Linked DNA regions of Homo sapiens: all the other regions are linked to region 2. Evidence: promoter capture Hi-C in 16 types of primary human blood cells and fetal thymus (Javierre and others, 2016). All regions are on one chromosome and are shown on one strand. Each heading gives the region's core, a stretch centred on a gene start or on the middle of the fragment in contact. The rest is flanking DNA. Distances are from core to core; before and after follow the strand shown.

Region 1 (2,700 bases), core at 16-2,515, 150 kb before region 2:
AGGCAAATTTACTTAGAGCTAGAAACTAGAAATTAGGGATAAACACACTGACATGTTTGGATAAGGCCAGAGTGCTAGATGTTGCCATTTTTCAAAGAAGATTTACTAATTTTATTATCCCCAAGAAACATATTCAAAACCAATTATTACATATGCAAATGTACATATTATTACCAATAATAACAGGGTAAAAACTTAATAGTATCCCCTCTGGGGAAAAAATGAATGGGAAGTTCATGGGAAAGGGACATTATAAATAGGCATTCCTCCTAAGACTTTTCACCCTCTTTGGTACATTATAAAGAAAAAAAATAGCAGGGAGAAAATGACAACGAATTAATGTGAAATTCTGATTTAGGATGATGAAAATCCAGCTAAACGGAAATAAAACAGCATATTCAAGTTCATCTAAAAGCTGAACTAAAACTACTAGATCTGTGAAAAGAGTTTCAACATTAACTAGTGAAATGGTGTTTACAACACATAGTAGAAGATATGCATTCTTTTGCATAATTTCTGTCATAGAAGCAAACAGTTTGTTTACACTTGAAATAAAATCAGTTGACATTGATCACCAAGGAAGCTCATGAATAAGACAAGATTGCTTAGGATACGAAACCATTCTCCAAACGATAACATCATAATTTAAAGTGGAAGATGGCAATACTCTAGGACTGCCCAGCGGGCTCTACCTAGAAGAGGTAACGGATGAAAGAAAAAAAAAAGAAACATTTTAGGGATTTTAAAACTCGCATATGCTGCTTGTCCTGCTGCCTCTGTTCTGATCCACAGAATTAAATATCCACATTGTCTAACTTGTTCTGACATTGCTGCCCCATAAAGCCATGGACTATGACAAGACAGAATTTCTTGGTGCCCTGTGTGAGTTAATCTGAGGTTGGAGCATGTGGTTGATTGTACTGTGACTTCCCTGTATCCACACCCTTCTTCAGTGTCCTCCCACTCTGACTCTGGATTCAGCAACGGTAGCAAACTTAAACAGAAACTTGAAACCTGTTTGCATGTTTTCAGCTTCTTCTTCTGGACTCCTAACTACAACTCAGAGAAATGCCTGGGCTAGCCTGCTGAAATATGAGACACATCGTCCTACCCGCACCCCCAGATGACCTGCCAGCTGATTCTAGAGACATAAGTCTAGCCAAGATCAGCAGAACTGCCCAGCCAACTTGCAGATCCATCCAAATAATAAAGGGGGTTAAGACTTACGCTGCCACTTCGGGGTGTTATGCAGCAATAATTGTGGATAGAGTGGTCAGGCTAGTCCATGATTTAGATTGATTATCCCCTCCACCTCTGACATAACTTGGGTGGGTCAGGGCCAACCACTATGAAGAGTGGAAACTGAGAGTTAAAACGAGTAAGAATGAAAAGTTATGGTATTACAGTTTCTTTATGAATTTATAAATATGAGGATGTTCTTTGAACTGGATTCAAGCCTCGAAAGCTATAAACTAGGTCTATTTACCTGAAGTCTATGATCTTTAAAGTGTATGAGGTGAGACTGGTTACTCCTCCGTGCACTATCTCCACAAGATGCTTCCACACTCATCATTTTCCTTGAGTCCATTCCAAGGCACTTTAACAATTTATGTTAACTTTCATTAAATAATAATTTTAAAGACCTTCCTAGCTCCTCTTAGAAAGACTTGGTTTTCAACATTTCTTGGCATTTGAGCCAATTGTACCATGTCATTTACGCCCAAAGCACCTCTAGAATGTTGTCAGATGACAACTACAATGTAATTAACAAGCATACGCAGATTATTTTCTTAGGTTGGCAAAGTAGTAACTATTTACACAGAAATAAAAAAAGGCCAATGGCACAAATAATAGAAAATAACAAGTTTATCATTACAGGACTCCCAAAACTTGTTGCAGGAGGCATGGTTTAATGCCCTTGACATTAACTTTCCAATGAACTTTTTCTTCCAACTAAGAGTGGCCAGCGTTATATTAAGCCATTTCTGGCTGTATTTTCTTCACATTCTAAGCCCATTTCCTTTTCTGTTGCCAGCACTCTCTCTTGGCTTTCCAACAGCTCTGGTTGGGCCTCTGTTCAAGTGGTAGTGCACACCCTACCTCCAAGGAACTTGTTGCAAATCTTGTTAGTCAAAAGTGTGGTCCATGGACCAGCATCAGAGTCCAGTCCAGTCTACTTAATCAGAATCTGCATTTGAACAAAATCCCCACGTGATTATTTTTACTTATTTTATAATTATTTTCACTTTTTATTCTTTCTCTTTAGCTTTTATTTAGTCTTTACACTTAGCTATAACTTGGGGACTGTGGCAGTGGGGTTCCATGTTATTCTTTTCAGCAGTTAGGCAGCTTATCTTAATCAGGAGGGAAAAAACTACTAGATCACATAGTATTGCTCCTCCCCATAGCATTCACAAAGAAGCAGGCATTAAGGTGGAATTCAATACAACCTTCTTTAGCACTATGATGTTATAAACCACACTCTCTTCTTCCTCTTGCATGCTATAGAATGACTTCTCTGTCTTCACAACCCTGCTGGATATTGAGAAGTCAATCATAATTCCACTATTTTATCCCACACTGACATGTTTTTTTTCTCTTCCAGCCAGTATATATCTTGATAATAGGTACTGAATCCTTTTTAACTAATAATGAAAATAATAACTTGGTCACTAATTTCTGAAATTTCGAATACATGCA
Region 2 (2,700 bases), core at 135-2,634:
ATCACCATTTTTTGTGCAAATCATAGACCTTTGAGTTAGAAGGGCACCAAAAGTTTCAGCTCTATTCCCTTTAAACAAATACAACATTTATTGCATTAGTTATGGGTGAGGAAATTGAGGCTTAGAAGGATTTGAAGATTTGCTCAAGGTGGAGATTCTCAAAAGTGTCCTCAGATACCTGCATCCTAACTTCCTGGGAAGTTTGTTCTAAAGTTTAGACTCCAGAGCTTCACCCAAAACTTACTGCTAAATTAAATCCTTTAAAGGAAATCTGCATTTTTAGGATCTCCTCTTATGCCTTCCAGCATAGTGCTTCTCAAACCCTAATGTTCATCTGAATCACCTAGGAGTCTTATTAAACTGCAAAGTGTGATGTAGCATGTCTGGAGTGGGGCTCAAGATTCTGTTTTTGTTTGTTTGTTTTTGTTTTTCAACTTTTATTTTAGATTTAGAGGCCACATATGCAAGTTTGCTACCTGGGTATGCTGTGTGATGCTGACATTTGTGGTATGAATGATTTTATCACCCAGGTACTGACAATAGTACCCAACAGTTTTTCAACCTTTGCTCCCTCGGTCCCCTCTCTAGTAGTCCACAGTGTCTATTTGTTGCCATCTTTATATCCCTGAGTGATATGGTTTGGCTGTGTCCCCACCCAAATCTCATCTTGGCCAAGAAGCCAAGTTTTAATGGGTACACAAGTGCATAGGAATTGGAGAGTGGGGAGCGTGAGTTGACTATTGGTCAGGGACTGTCAACGGAAGGGAAGGAACCAATGATGGGAGTGAGAGCCCAGAACTCGGTGTTCGAAGTGGGTAATTTATGGGAGGGGCATACCTACGAGCAGACAATGCACTCAGACAAGGAAGATTTGCACATTGGACAGAAGAGACACCTTTTTCCTCTGCAATAAGAACCAAGGAGGTAAGTAGGGGGTCTGATATGAGTTTGTGCATGTGTGCAGGGTGAGTGAGACAATCCATATATTTGAGAAAAGACAGTGAAATCTTTAAAGGTAAAAATAATAAAACCAGCTGTGGCACCTATTGGATAAGGAATTACTAACTGATGATTTAGAAATTCCTTTATGTGCGTTAGGAGCTCATTTGTTATCCCCATTTTACAGATGCGCAGCCCCAGGTTCAGCAATTTGCTCTAAATGAGACTGTAGAGGCTAATTCCAGCCCCCGGCAGCTCTCACCTTAAGCTGCCTGGCTGAGGTCAGCAGTAAGTTACCTGGCAGCGTCCGGGGGCCTGCAGCCGAGGACAGGGCTGGAACTACACTTCCCAGTGTGCCAGGCGGGGCGGGGCGCGGCGGGGAGGGCGCAGGCTCCTTCCCAGAAGCAAAAGCGGAAACAAAAGAGTCTCGCCGGCGTCCCCGCCCGCACACTCGCGCACACTCGCGCTCGGGCGCACACGGAGCAGGGACCGGCGCCCGGAGCGAGCCAGGGAGCGGCTAACCGGGGACCCACCGCGCGGAGCCAGCCTAGCTGCCAGCGAGCCCAACCCGCGACGACCCACGCCCCTGAGCCCCGCAGCCGACCCCTGCCGGCCGGTGTCCCCACCGCCATCCCTGACCCATGGCGCTGAAGAGGATTCAGAAAGTGAGTGCCGGGGCCGGGCCTGGGGCTGCGGGGCAGCGGCCCCCTGCCCACGCTGACTCGGCCAGTGGTCCCGAGAGACATGCGGGGAGAGCAAGGGATGGAAGGGTGGGCCGGGGTGCGGGCAGGGAGCTGAAGGCTCGGGCCGGGCCAGCGGGCATCGGACAGGTGAGGTGGGAGCAGGGTCAGGTCCCAGGCGGCCGGAGGAGCTTGAAGGCTGGGGGCCCGCGCGCGTTCGCGCCGGAGCCGCTCCCGGAGCCCCAGGGTAGAGAGCCTCTTGCGCGTCCAGACCGTCCCGAAATCTGTGCTTCACGGTCACGGCCGGGTTTTGCCCTCCATGGGGCTAGTTTTGACCCCTGTCATGCTGTGTTTTCTCCAGGCTGTTTCTTAAGCCTGTCCTCTTTTATGTTCTTGCTTACCCGGCCTCCCCGGGAGGGCAAGGAAGGTGGGGTGGGCCTGCAGCCTTTCTCCGCGGAGCTGTCGGGTTGGTTCTTTCTCTCCTCTGCGGTTGGCTCTTGCTCAGTTGCCCGAATGGGCTGGAAAGCCCATTTGCGGCCAAGAAGTCAGGAGAAGGCTCCTGCCCCTTCTATTTTGGTGCCTCTGCTGCTGCCACTTCAGGTCACATAGCTGTAGCGAAAACATAGTTGCTGATACACAACAAGATGACCTCCTGGCTGTGATTCACGGTGAGTCAAGCCAAACAGGTTTTTTTCCCCCTCATGATAAACTTAGATGTAAAGTTCGAGACACAACATAAACTGTCGCAAATAAATTGTTTTGATGCTTTGACACATGGGTATAGAATGAGGAAGAAATATATATCTTCATCCAACAACTGTTTACCCATCTCAACCCTGTGTATGGAATCGTCTTTTTTTCACAGTATTTATTGCCACCATTTCAGATGCGAACATCCTTCAGAATTCAGATTCGGGCATTTCTTTCTGTTCATTTTTATTTCTTGTTGGTCTGTGTACTGACCCAAGTTTTAGGTTTTACAGTTACAGTTCACACTGGCAACATTGAGAATGTGTTTGTTAAATAGGGAGTGCTTTTCACTAAGTTAAGCAACAATGGACAGTGTATTTTGTAGTTGTTT
Region 3 (2,700 bases), core at 147-2,646, 170 kb before region 2:
ACCACCTAAAATGTAGTTTTGTAACTTAACAAACAGAGAGCTTTCTGATGACATAGTTACTGAAGGACAAAAGTGGAGTGGGGCATGAGCATGTTATTCTGGGAAAGCCTCATAAAGAATGTGAGTTCTCCAAATCTGATTGATGTTGTGGAATTTAAAAAAAAAAGAATCATCGCTGAGCACGGTGGCTCACACCTGTAATCCCAGCACTTTGGGGGCTGAGGCGGGCAGATCACAAGATCAGGAGATCGAGACCATCCTGGCTAACACGGTGAAACCCCGTTTCTACAAAAAAATACAAAAAAAAATTAGCCGGGCGTGGTGGCAGACGCCTGTAGTCCCAGGTACTCGGGAGGCTGAGGCAGGAGAATGGCGTGAACCCAGGAGGCGGAGCTTGCAGTGAGCCAAGATTGCGCCACTGCACTCCAGCCAAAAAAAAAAAAAGGAATCATCAAACCTGCGAGGCAAGCAGGGCGATGACGAGACACTTGTGTGATGATCCAGAAGAGGATCTGCAGTTTCCACAAACAGACTCGACCAGCTCCAAAACTGGCAAGGGTTGGTCCTACCTGCAGGACGGTTTGCCTGGTGCACATGCTTCTTGACTCTCCCCATCCTGAAAACTTTCCCTGAAATAATTTCTTCCTGCTTTTCTCTGTGGTCTGCAGGCTGAGCTCTTCTACATTTCCTGGGTCTCAATTTGTAGGACATTGTGTTTAACCTGTGTTTCCTTACTTCTGATTGGTGTTTCTCGTCTTGTGTCCTGAGTTCTGAAGACACTGATGACATTTGTTTGTTTGTTTGTTTGTTTGTTTGTTTGTTTGTTTTTGAGACAGGGTCTCACTCTGTCACCCAGGCTGGAGTGCAGTGGTGCGATCTCGGCTCACTGCAGCCTCCACCTCCTGGGTTCAAGTGATTCTCCTGCCTCAGCCTCCTGAGTAGCTCAGATTACAGGCATGCAACAACATGCCCAGCTAATTTTTGTACTTTTAGTAGAGACAGGGTTTCACCTTGTTGGCCACACTGGTCTTGAACTCCTGACCTCAGGTGATCCACCCACCTCGGCCTCCCAAAGTGCTGGGATTACAGGTGTGAGCCACCGCACCCAACCACTGATGACAATTTTTAAGCAATAAAAGAAATCTGCTACTTCTTCTCACCTTCAACCACCCATGGCAATTTCAGTTCTGTTGGAGATTGAGTACCTCTTCTTGACGCTTGTTCTAGAATCAAGCTGATGTTTAAGTCTGGAGGCTTCACAAAAGTCCACAGAAGCTGAGAGATGACTAAGCACAATCCGACTTTCTAGGCACTCGAGCCTCCCTCTTGCTCATTCATTCAGCAATCGCATGCACTGAGCCCCAGCTGTGGGCCAGTCACAGTGCTCAGCCTGGGGCATAGTCATGACAATATCTGCCCTCCAAGTTGACAATCCATGGAGAGACCAACTATAAACATGAAAGTGCAGCAAGGAGAAGCAGGGGCTACTGTGAAAGGAGGAGGTGGCCAAACCTAGTCTGAAGATCAGAAAAGGTTTCTCACAAGAAGTGACATATTGGCAGCTGAGGCTTGAAGGGTGAACAGGAATTGGTCAGGCGACTGTCTTATCATGCCCAGGTGTCCAGTCCCTGCATTTCCTGTGCTCCAGAGGACACACCCAATTTGACACCTCATCCTAGCTCTCCTTTCACAGGAGATACTGCATTTCCCCTGGTCATCCCTCATTCCACCCCCCATAATGAAACATAGGTCTTTGTCTCACATTGTCTTGGTTCGTTTGTGAATATCACTCATAGTCCAATCATCTGAGATCAACATTCTGACCCTACCATCTACAGTCTTTATGAATAAGTTGTCTTATTTCTTTTCTGAGTCATTTTTCTCATCCTGAAATATGGGGTCATTTATACCTTCCTACCTACTTCACAAAAATAAGAATAAATCAAATAATTGTGTTTTTGCTGCTGGATTATAAAAGGAGATTTTAAAGAAGTAGAATAGTTAAAAAAATATATGAGTTAAGCCAGCTGTCCCCAAAACACTTATCATCTCCTATGATGCTCTTTATATCATAACTATAGTCATAATAATAATAAAAGTTAATACTTTTATTGCTTATTTTGGTGTCTGTGCAGAGCAGACACCCTATAAATATTTTTTAATCACTTAATCTTCCCAACAAGTCTATAAGGTAGATATTAGTACTATTACTATTATTATTATTATCCTATTTTCAGATGGATATGAGGCAGAGAGAGGTTCAGTGATTTGTGTGCAATCAAGCAGCCAAGAAATGGTGGAACCAAGAGCAGCTGTGGGTGAGCACGTCGTGGCTATCCTCCCTTCCTTTCCTAACTCTCTGCTTCAACACCCCTCCCCTGATTCTGTCCCTGGTATTGTTTTCTGCAGTCTGCATTAAAAGCAACTTAGTCTGTTCTTTTCTTTATAGCACCACAACAGAGCTGACTTTTACATGCTGCAATCATCGCAAATTCCAAGCCGCTTCTTGAACAGGCAGTCACACAGAGTTACAGAATGTGACTGTTGCCCACTCTATCAGTGCTGGAAAGACTGATTCCATGGAGGGATAGAGAAAAGGCAGGTAAAATGAAAGCCTCCTGCCTAAAGTGTTAAATTTTCTTTTTAAAAACAATCAAAAAAAAAATTTCTGTCTATCTACAGACAACAGCATGTGCATCC

What was found. The method cuts DNA at HindIII sites, captures the fragments that hold promoters and counts their contacts. A CHiCAGO score of 5 or more calls a contact.
Region 1: a contact is called between a fragment that was not itself captured here and the fragment with the promoter of UBE2D1 in region 2, in 1 of 17 cell types (monocytes). The highest score is 6.5, in monocytes.
Region 3: a fragment that was not itself captured here is called in contact with the fragment with the promoter of UBE2D1 in region 2 in 1 of 17 cell types (neutrophils); the score reaches 5.3 in neutrophils.

The regions. Positions count from the first base shown.
Region 1 is chr10:58,188,446-58,191,145 of GRCh38, forward strand. No RefSeq gene overlaps it. Among named protein-coding and RNA genes, the nearest start is that of IPMK, 78 kb to the right of the region's middle. The HindIII fragment of the contact is 2,947 bases long and covers 1-2,700 here.
Region 2 is chr10:58,333,622-58,336,321 of GRCh38, forward strand. UBE2D1 (ubiquitin conjugating enzyme E2 D1) reads left to right here and starts at 1,385. Exons shown (of 7, transcript NM_003338.5): 1 at 1,385-1,604. The coding sequence starts at 1,581. RefSeq lists enhancers at 1,049-1,549, 1,148-1,442 and a silencer at 1,250-1,769. The HindIII fragment of the contact is 6,404 bases long and covers 1-2,700 here.
Region 3 is chr10:58,163,404-58,166,103 of GRCh38, forward strand. No RefSeq gene overlaps it. Among named protein-coding and RNA genes, the nearest start is that of IPMK, 100 kb to the right of the region's middle. The HindIII fragment of the contact is 3,813 bases long and covers 1-2,700 here.